Linked DNA regions of Homo sapiens: region 1 is linked to region 2. Evidence: promoter capture Hi-C in human tissues and cell types (Jung and others, 2019). All regions are on one chromosome and are shown on one strand. Each heading gives the region's core, a stretch centred on a gene start or on the middle of the fragment in contact. The rest is flanking DNA. Distances are from core to core; before and after follow the strand shown. Region 1 overlaps ADAT1 (adenosine deaminase tRNA specific 1). Region 2 holds the start of CTRB1 (chymotrypsinogen B1).

The links. Contacts are between HindIII fragments. The study calls those that stand out against the background at their distance.
Region 1: a fragment that was not itself captured here is called in contact with the fragment with the promoter of CTRB1 in region 2 in 1 of the 25 tissues and cell types used here (lymphoblastoid cells).

Annotation. Positions count from the first base shown.
Region 1 is chr16:75,609,038-75,613,042 of GRCh38, forward strand. It overlaps ADAT1 (adenosine deaminase tRNA specific 1), which reads right to left. Exons shown (of 10, transcript NM_001324445.2): 6 at 3,206-3,824. Among named protein-coding and RNA genes, the nearest start is that of ADAT1, 12 kb to the right of the region's middle. The HindIII fragment of the contact is 5,098 bases long and covers 1-3,857 here.
Region 2 is chr16:75,216,261-75,220,237 of GRCh38, forward strand. It overlaps CTRB1 (chymotrypsinogen B1), which reads left to right and starts at 2,728. Exons shown (of 7, transcript NM_001906.6): 1 at 2,728-2,799. The coding sequence starts at 2,748. RefSeq lists an enhancer at 2,266-2,345. The HindIII fragment of the contact is 13,252 bases long and covers 1-3,977 here.

The sequences.
Region 1 (4,005 bases), core at 59-2,558, 390 kb after region 2:
CAGTATCTAGGATTGTGGCTCACATCATCACCCCTGAGCCTTAGCAGGTGTGGGGATTTGTTTATTTATTTGGGCAGACAGTGTTTCAGAATAGAATCAAGATTGTAAGCACCTCATGGCTGGAAGAAGATCCTTCTCCCTCAATCTGCAGGGATAACTAAGAATCAAGTCAACACCCTTCAGGGATGTAACACCAAACTCCATTCCTGATATAGGCTTTGAGAAACTTGAAAAGTTTAAGCAGAAACATTAATGTGTTGGCACCTGCTTCCTAGGGAATCCTTCAAACACACCAAAACCCAAAATTATCCTATAATATAAAAGCTTCATTTTTTTCTCTTGTATCTTTGAACAAACTAGATGCCAACATGATGCTGGTCTAGAATGAAGCAGATAGCAACTGCAAGTACCAGAATAGGAAAAACAGAAAACATCCCAGGCACAGTGCCTAGGGTTGGCTTTTTTAAAAAAAAACAAAAAACCAACATCTTTATAGGGATATAGTTCACATACCATAAAATGTACTCATTTAAAGTGGATAATTCAATTGTTTTTAGTATATTCATAGAACTGTACAACTATCATGGTAATGTAATTTAAGGAATTTTCATCACCCCAGAAAGAAACCTCGTACCTATTAGCATTCACTCTCTATTCCCTGGTAACCACTTAAATTTTTTGTTTTTTTGAGATAGGGTCTCTGTTGCTCAGACTGGAGTGCAGTCACATGATCTCGGCTCACTGCAACTTCTGCCCCCTGGTCTCAAGCGATCCTCCCACCTCCACCTCCCAAGTAGCTGAGACTACAGGCATGCACCATCATGTCCGACTAATTTTTAAATTTTTTGTAGAGATGGGATTTTGCCATATTGCCTAGGCTGGTCTTGAACTCCTTGGCTCAAGCGATCCTCCCACTCCAGCCTCCCAAAGTGCTGGCATTACAGGCATGAGCCACAGCACCTAGCCTGTGGTAACTACTAAGCTATTATCTGTCTTTATGGATTTGCCTGTTCTAGATATTACACAAATAAAATTATACAATATGTGATTTCTTTCACTTAGCATTATATTTTCAAGTTCATCCATGCTGCAGCATGTAATAGTACTTCAGTCGTTTTTATAGCTGAATCATAGTCCATTGTATGGATATATCACATTTGATTTATCCATTCATCCACTAATGGACATTTGTCTTTTTGTTTATTATGAATAATGCTGTTGTGAACATTTATGTACAGGTTTTTGTTATATACATATACACTTTTTTTTTTTTTTGGAGACAGGGTTTCACTCTGTTGTCTAGGATGGAGTGCAGTGGTGAAATCACGGTTCACTGCAGCCTCAACATCCCGTGGCTCTGGTGATCCTCCCACATCAGCTCCCCATGCAGATGGGACTACAAGTGTGTGCCACCACACCTGGCTGAGTTTTGTATTTTTTGTAGAGACAGGGTTTCCTCATGTTGACCAGGTTGGTCTTGAACTCCTGGACTCAAGCAATCTGCGTGACATGGCCTCCCAAGATGCTAGGATTACAGGCATGAGCTACTGTACTTGGCCTACTTGTGTGAATGTATGTTTTCATTTATTTTGGGTTGTACCTAGGAGTGGAATTGCTGGACCATATCTTGAGGCTTCACATTTGATATGGGCCTATGAGGCTTGCCCTGGCCATGGCTTTGCCCTGCCCTCATTTCCTATAGCACTGAGTTTGGCTGCCTCCTTTAGGGAGACCACACTTGAGTGGTCATCTTTTGACTTTTAACTTTAAAAAAATTAAAACTAATGTTTAGGGCTGGGTGAGGTGGCTCACACCTATAATCCCAACACTGTGGCAGGCCAAGGTGGGAGAATTACTTAAGGCCAGGAGTTCAAGACCAGCCTGGGTAACCCAATAACACCCCGTCTCCACAAAAAAAATTTAAAAATCAGCCAAGTGTGGTGGCTTATGCCTGTAATCTTAGCTATTCAGGAGGCTGAGGCAGGAGGATCACTTGAGCTCAGGAACTGGAGGCTGTAGTAAACTATGATTGTACCACTGCACTCCAGTCTGGGTGAGACCCAGTGAAACCTTGTCACTACAAAAACATTCTGAAAGCCCCAAACTAATGTTTAGGGTTAAAAAACATATATAATGGCAATGTATGTGCACTGTAGAAAAATCAGAAAATATATTAAAAACAAAGAAGAAAAAAACCACCCATAATACAACTCAGAGATTATTAATAATACCTTAGCGCTCATCCTCTTATAATTTTTCTTATGTGTGGATGTACTTTAAGACCAAAATTGGCTTTTTATCTTCTAAACTGTTCTTTAAACAGTATAGACATGTTTCCATATTAAATATTCATAAATATTATTATTTTATTTGAGACAGGGTCTGTCACCCAGGCTGGAGTGCAGTGGAATGACCTTGGTTCACTGCAGCCTCAATCTTCCCAGGGTCAGGTGATCCTCCTGCCTCAGCTGCCCTATTCTAGGACTACAGGTGCGTGCCACATCTGGCTAGTTTTTGTATTTTTTGTAAAGACGGGGTTTCCTCATGTTACCTAGGCTGGTCTAGAACTTCTGTGCTCAAGCAATCCGCCCCCCTCGACCTCCCAAAGTGCTGGGATTACAGTCGTGAGCCACCATGCCCAGCCATTCATCAATACTATTTTTAACAACAAAGAAAACACTTAATTTCCTATTACTGGGCATTTCAGTTGTTTACTTTTCTTCTTTAAAAAAATTATTAGCCGGGCGCGGTGGCTCACACCTGTAATCCCAGCACTTTGGGAGACCGAGGTGGGTGGATCACCTGAGGTCAGGAGTTTGAGACCAGCCTGACCAACATGGTGAAACCCCGTCTCTACTAAAAATACAAAAATTAGCCAGGCGTGGTGGCGCATGCCTGTAGTCCCAGCTACTCATGAAGCTGAGGCAGGAGAATCACTTGAACCCAGGAGGCGGTGGCTGCAGTGAGCCCAGAGCACGCCATTGCACCCCAGCCTGGGTGACAGAGCAAGACTCCGTCTCTAAAAAACAAAAAAAAATTATATACAAAGCTAAATGTTCAAATACTTTAATTATTTCCTTAAGACAAATTCCTGGAAGTGGAACTGCTGGATCAAAAGGTATGGAGATTCTTAATGCTCTTAGGCCTTACCCTCAGACTGCCTCTTGGAATGACTGTTCCAATTGAGCCCTCCCTACCCTCTCACCTTCCAATCAGTGCTCTCTGCATGGCTTCCTGGCTGTATGGGCACTTCCCAATGACCACAGCTGACAGGTAGATGGGCTCTTCCAGCAAGTGCATCAACAGTGCCCCTTGGCATCCGAGGACGTTCCATCGGGCCATCTTGTCACTACAGGACATGGAGCGTGTTCTGTCTCCACGGCCTGGCTTCACTCGGAGCAGCCCCACCTGGTGAAACGCAGCACCCGGCTTTCCGGAGTCTCCAGCTTCTCCAGGTACACACTTGGCTCCAGTTCTATAAACGTCTATCACTTTGGCACTACCAGGGGCTATTCTGGTGACAGTAGCCAGTCCCTCTACAGTGAGATCACAGCTGTGGATGCCTGGTGAGATTGGGCCACTTTTCTGCTTGCCAAAACTCTGATGGTGAGCTGCTCCGTTGGTGACCTCCCTGGCTGCAGTCCCAGGCTCAAGCCTCATCTTTTTGGTTACAGGACTGTCAGGGTCTTCACATTTTCTTTCATTTCCAGGAGCTTCCAGGTTACTACTGGCTTCTACTGATGAGTTGTGGGCCCAATTTCTGAAGACAGGACAGCAAGGCTGATCTTCAAACTCAAGCATCGGAATGATGGAGGCATCCCCACCTGCAGAGAATGAACCCACTTAAACAAATGGTTCTCAAGTGAGGTCCCTGGACCAGCCACAATGGGATCTCTTGGGAATTCATCAGAAATGCAAACTCTTGGGACCCACAGTAGACCTGCTGAATCAGAAACTCCGGAGGCAGAGCCCAGCAGTGTGTTTTTAACAAGCTCTCCAGGTGAT
Region 2 (3,977 bases), core at 1,478-3,977:
GCCTGCTTCATTCCTTCTTATGACTGAATAATAGTCCTGTGGAGAGCTCATGTCTTACTCATTCCTCTGCTGATGAACAACAGGGGTGATTTCTGTCTTTTGGCTGTTGGGAATAGTGCTGCTGTGAACACTGGTGTGCGAGTGTCTGCTTAAGTCCTTTTATTTAGGGGGAGTGGAATTGTCAGGTCATGAGGTAACTCTGTTTATTTTGTGGAATTGCCAAACTGTTTTCTTTGCACTTCTTTTTACTCTTTTTTTTGAGACAAGGCCTTGCTCCGCTGCCTAGGCTGGATCTCGGCTCACTGCAGCCTCGATCTCCCAGGCTCAAGTTATCCTCCTACTTCATCCTCTTGAGTAGCCGGGACTATGCCACCACGCCACCATGCCCAGCTAATGTTGTTTTTTTTAAATTTTTTTGTAGAGATGGGGTCTCACTTTGTTGCCCAGGCTGGTGTTGGACTCCTTGGCTTAAGTGATCCTCCCACCTTGGCCTCCCACAGTGCCAAGATTCCAGGCGTGAGCCACTGTGCCCAGCCATGCCGAACTGTTTGCATAGCAGCTTCACCATTTTACATTCCCAGCAGCAATGTATGAGGGTTCCAGTTTTTCCACATCCCACACTTGTTATTTTCTGTTTCTTTAAATTGTAGCTATCAGCCTGGTGTGCTGGCTCACGCCTGTAATCCCAGCACTTTCGGAGGCCGAGGTGGCTGGATCGCTTGAGGTCAGGAGTTGGAGATCATCCTGGCCAACATGGCAAAACCCCATCTCTACTAAAAATACAAAAATTAGCTGGGCATGGTGGCAGACGCCTGTAATCCCAGCTACTTGGGGGGACTGAGGCAGGAGAATCGCTTCAACCTGGGAGGCAAAGGTTGCAGTGAGCTGAGGTCACACCCCTGCACTCCAGCCTAGGCGACAGAGCAAGACTCTGTCTCAGGGGAAAAAGAAAAAAAAAGGGTAACATGGTGATGTGAACTTTTGAAATTTTCTCTTTAGTATATAAGTTTAGTTTTGCTTTATAGTTGTGCATTCTCCAGCAGCGGTGGGAGTGGGGAGGGGATATTCTAAATGCCAAGGTGACCTGGCCCGCTGACCACAGAGCCCAAGGCCTTCCATGGAAACACCATCCACCCACTGTGTCTTACTTTCATACCCTCATCGTCCGGAAATGCAGTACAGCCTGTCCTGTCCAGCCTTGCCCCAGGTGACTGTGGTCACTATATTACATGCTCATCTGTGTCGTGTGTGTCTGTCATGAGCGTCTCAGGCCCATAAGGGCAGGGATGCTGCGGGCTCTGTCCCCTGAATATCTGCCCACAGGGTGCTGAGGATCCCTTGGCCTTCACTTTCTGCCCAGTCACCGACCTGTCACCCACACCTGTCTTTCCTCCTTGTTTTGTGACAATGAAAAAAGTTTTTCTGCTTCCTCAAAATTTATTTTCAGACAGGCGCAGTGACTCACGCCTGTAATTTCAGCACTTTAGGAGGCCAAGGCCACAGGATCACCTGAGGCCGGGAGCTCAAGAGGAGCCTGGCCAACGTGGTAAAACCCTGTCTCTACTAAAAATACAACAATTGGCCAAGTGCGGTGGCTAACGCCTGTAATCCCAGCACTTTGGGAGGCCGAGGAAGGTGGATCACCCGAGATCAGGAGTTTGGGACCAGCCTGGCCAACATGGTGAAACCCCGTCTCTACTAAAAATATAAAAATTAGCCAGGTTTGGTGCTATGCCTGTAATCCCAGCTACTCAAGAGGCTGAGGTGGGAGAATTGCTTGAACCTGGGAGGTGGAGGCTGCAGTGAGCCAAGATTGTGCCACTGCACTCCAGCCTAGGCAGCAGAGCAAGACCCCATCTCAAAAAAAAAAAAAAATAGCTGGGTGTGGTGGGCACCTGTAATCCCAGCTACTTGGGAGGCTGAGGCAGGAGAATCAGTTGAACCCGGGAAGAGGAGGCTGCAGTGAGCTGAAATTGCGCCACTGCACTCCGGCCTGGGTGACAGAGTGAGACTCCATCTTAAAAAGTTTGTTTTCTGTGTCATTTTATGGTGCGGAATCCAAGTTCCATTTTGTAAGAAACTGAAACTTTATGAAATGATTAGTTCCTTATATCATGAGTCATTGCAGAAAAAGTGAATTCTGTTGGGTTCTACAGCACAGGTGGGACGCGTGTCAGTGGCTTTGCCCACCTGTTACGGCCACCAGCGGGTTGGTCCTTGTCACCCAGACCCTCGCCACAGTCAGAAGTGGCTTGGCTTCACTGGTGACTTGCAGTGACACTCTGGAGAATCCACGATGCCCTGAGTCACCCTTTGCTTCTAGGACAGTGTTAGGCGGAAACACCCTTCACTGAGAGCCTGAGTTCCCGGAGACCTGGTTCCATGACAGCAGCTGGTCCTCCACGAGCCCTGGGGTGGAACTGCCTCCACTTCCCCTCTGGGAACAGAAGAGCCTGGTGCCGTCTCCTGGCAGGGATACTGCAGCTCACAGCTGGCTCTGTGGGATCATGTCCCCAAGGCTGACCGGTGATGTCAGCGCAGCTGCCCCTTTCCCAGGGACTGGGGTTGTCTGGTAGAGAGCCAGGCGGGGCTCTGTCTCCACTTATTGCCCAAGGTCCCTGGGTAACAGGGAGGGTGGGCTCAGGCCTCCCTGGCTGGGGGAGCGGGGGGGGCTGGGCTCCCTGCCCCCCCAAGGTGGTAAAAGGGGCCCCGCAGCTGGCAGGCCCCACACCTTCTGAGGCAGCGGCATGGCTTCCCTCTGGCTCCTCTCCTGCTTCTCCCTTGTGGGGGCCGCCTTTGGTGAGTGCTGGTGCCCGAGGGGTCTGTCCTGAGGGAGCCCTGAGCCTGGCTGAGAGGGGGATCTGAGTCCCCTGCTCTGCCCCCTGGGGCCTCATCCCCAGCACAGGTAACCTGAGGGCTCAGGAGAGGGTGCATTCTGGGGCTTTCTGAGCCCACACAACCTGCTCCAGGAGTGGGAAGGACGATGCTGGTCTCTGCCATGGTCTGAGGCTCCAGAAGTGGCTGGGGTGGGGGTGCCTTGTGCAGGGTAAGGTGTGGCCCCAGGAGACCTCCCAAGGCCTCCACCGGGGTTTTTATTGTGCTGGGTACTTGTCAAGCATTTTCTTCCTTTCTTTCTTTTTTTTTTTTCGAGACAGAATTTCACTCCTATTGCCGAGGCTGGAGTGCAATGGTGCAATCTCCACTTACTGCAACCTCCATCTCCTGGGTTCAAATGATCTTCCTGCCTCAGCTTCCCGAGCAGCTGGGACTACAGGCATGGACCACCAACCCTGGCTAATTTTTAGTAGAGACGGGCTTTCACCACGTTGGCCAGGCTGGTCTTGAACTCCTGACCTCAGGTGATGCCCCCGCCTCGGCCTCCCAAAGTGCTGGGATTACAGGCATGAGCTACTGTGCCCAGCCGTGTTTTCTATTTTTTAAAAGAGAAATAGTAAAAGAAAATACAGAAAAGAATATGACATCCTTGTATCTACTGTCAGAATTCAGCAAATCTTTTTGCACATTTGCTTCAGATATTTCTAAAACAGATTGTACTCAGGCTTCCCTTTTCTCCCTCCTTCCCTCTCTGGAATGTGAGCTTGATTCTGAACTTTCTATGAATAATTGCAGTGTGAGCTTATACAATTGTACTACATATTTTTATACATCTATACATAAGGTTTCAAAAAGGTTACATCAATGGAACGGTATTCTATCCTGTTTTTGGTTTTGGTTTTGGTTTTGGTTTTGAGACAGGGTCTCACTCTGTCACCCAGGCTGGAGTGCAGTAGTGTGAGTTTGCAGCCTCAAACTCAAGGGCTCGAGTGATCCTCCCACTATAGCCTCCCGAGTAGCTGGCGCTACAGGCACGCTAAGTTTAAAAACTTGTTTTGTTTTGTAGAGATGGAGGTTTTTTTTGTTATTTTTTTTTCTTTTCTTTGAGACAGAGTTTCACTCTTGTCACCCAGGCTGGAGTG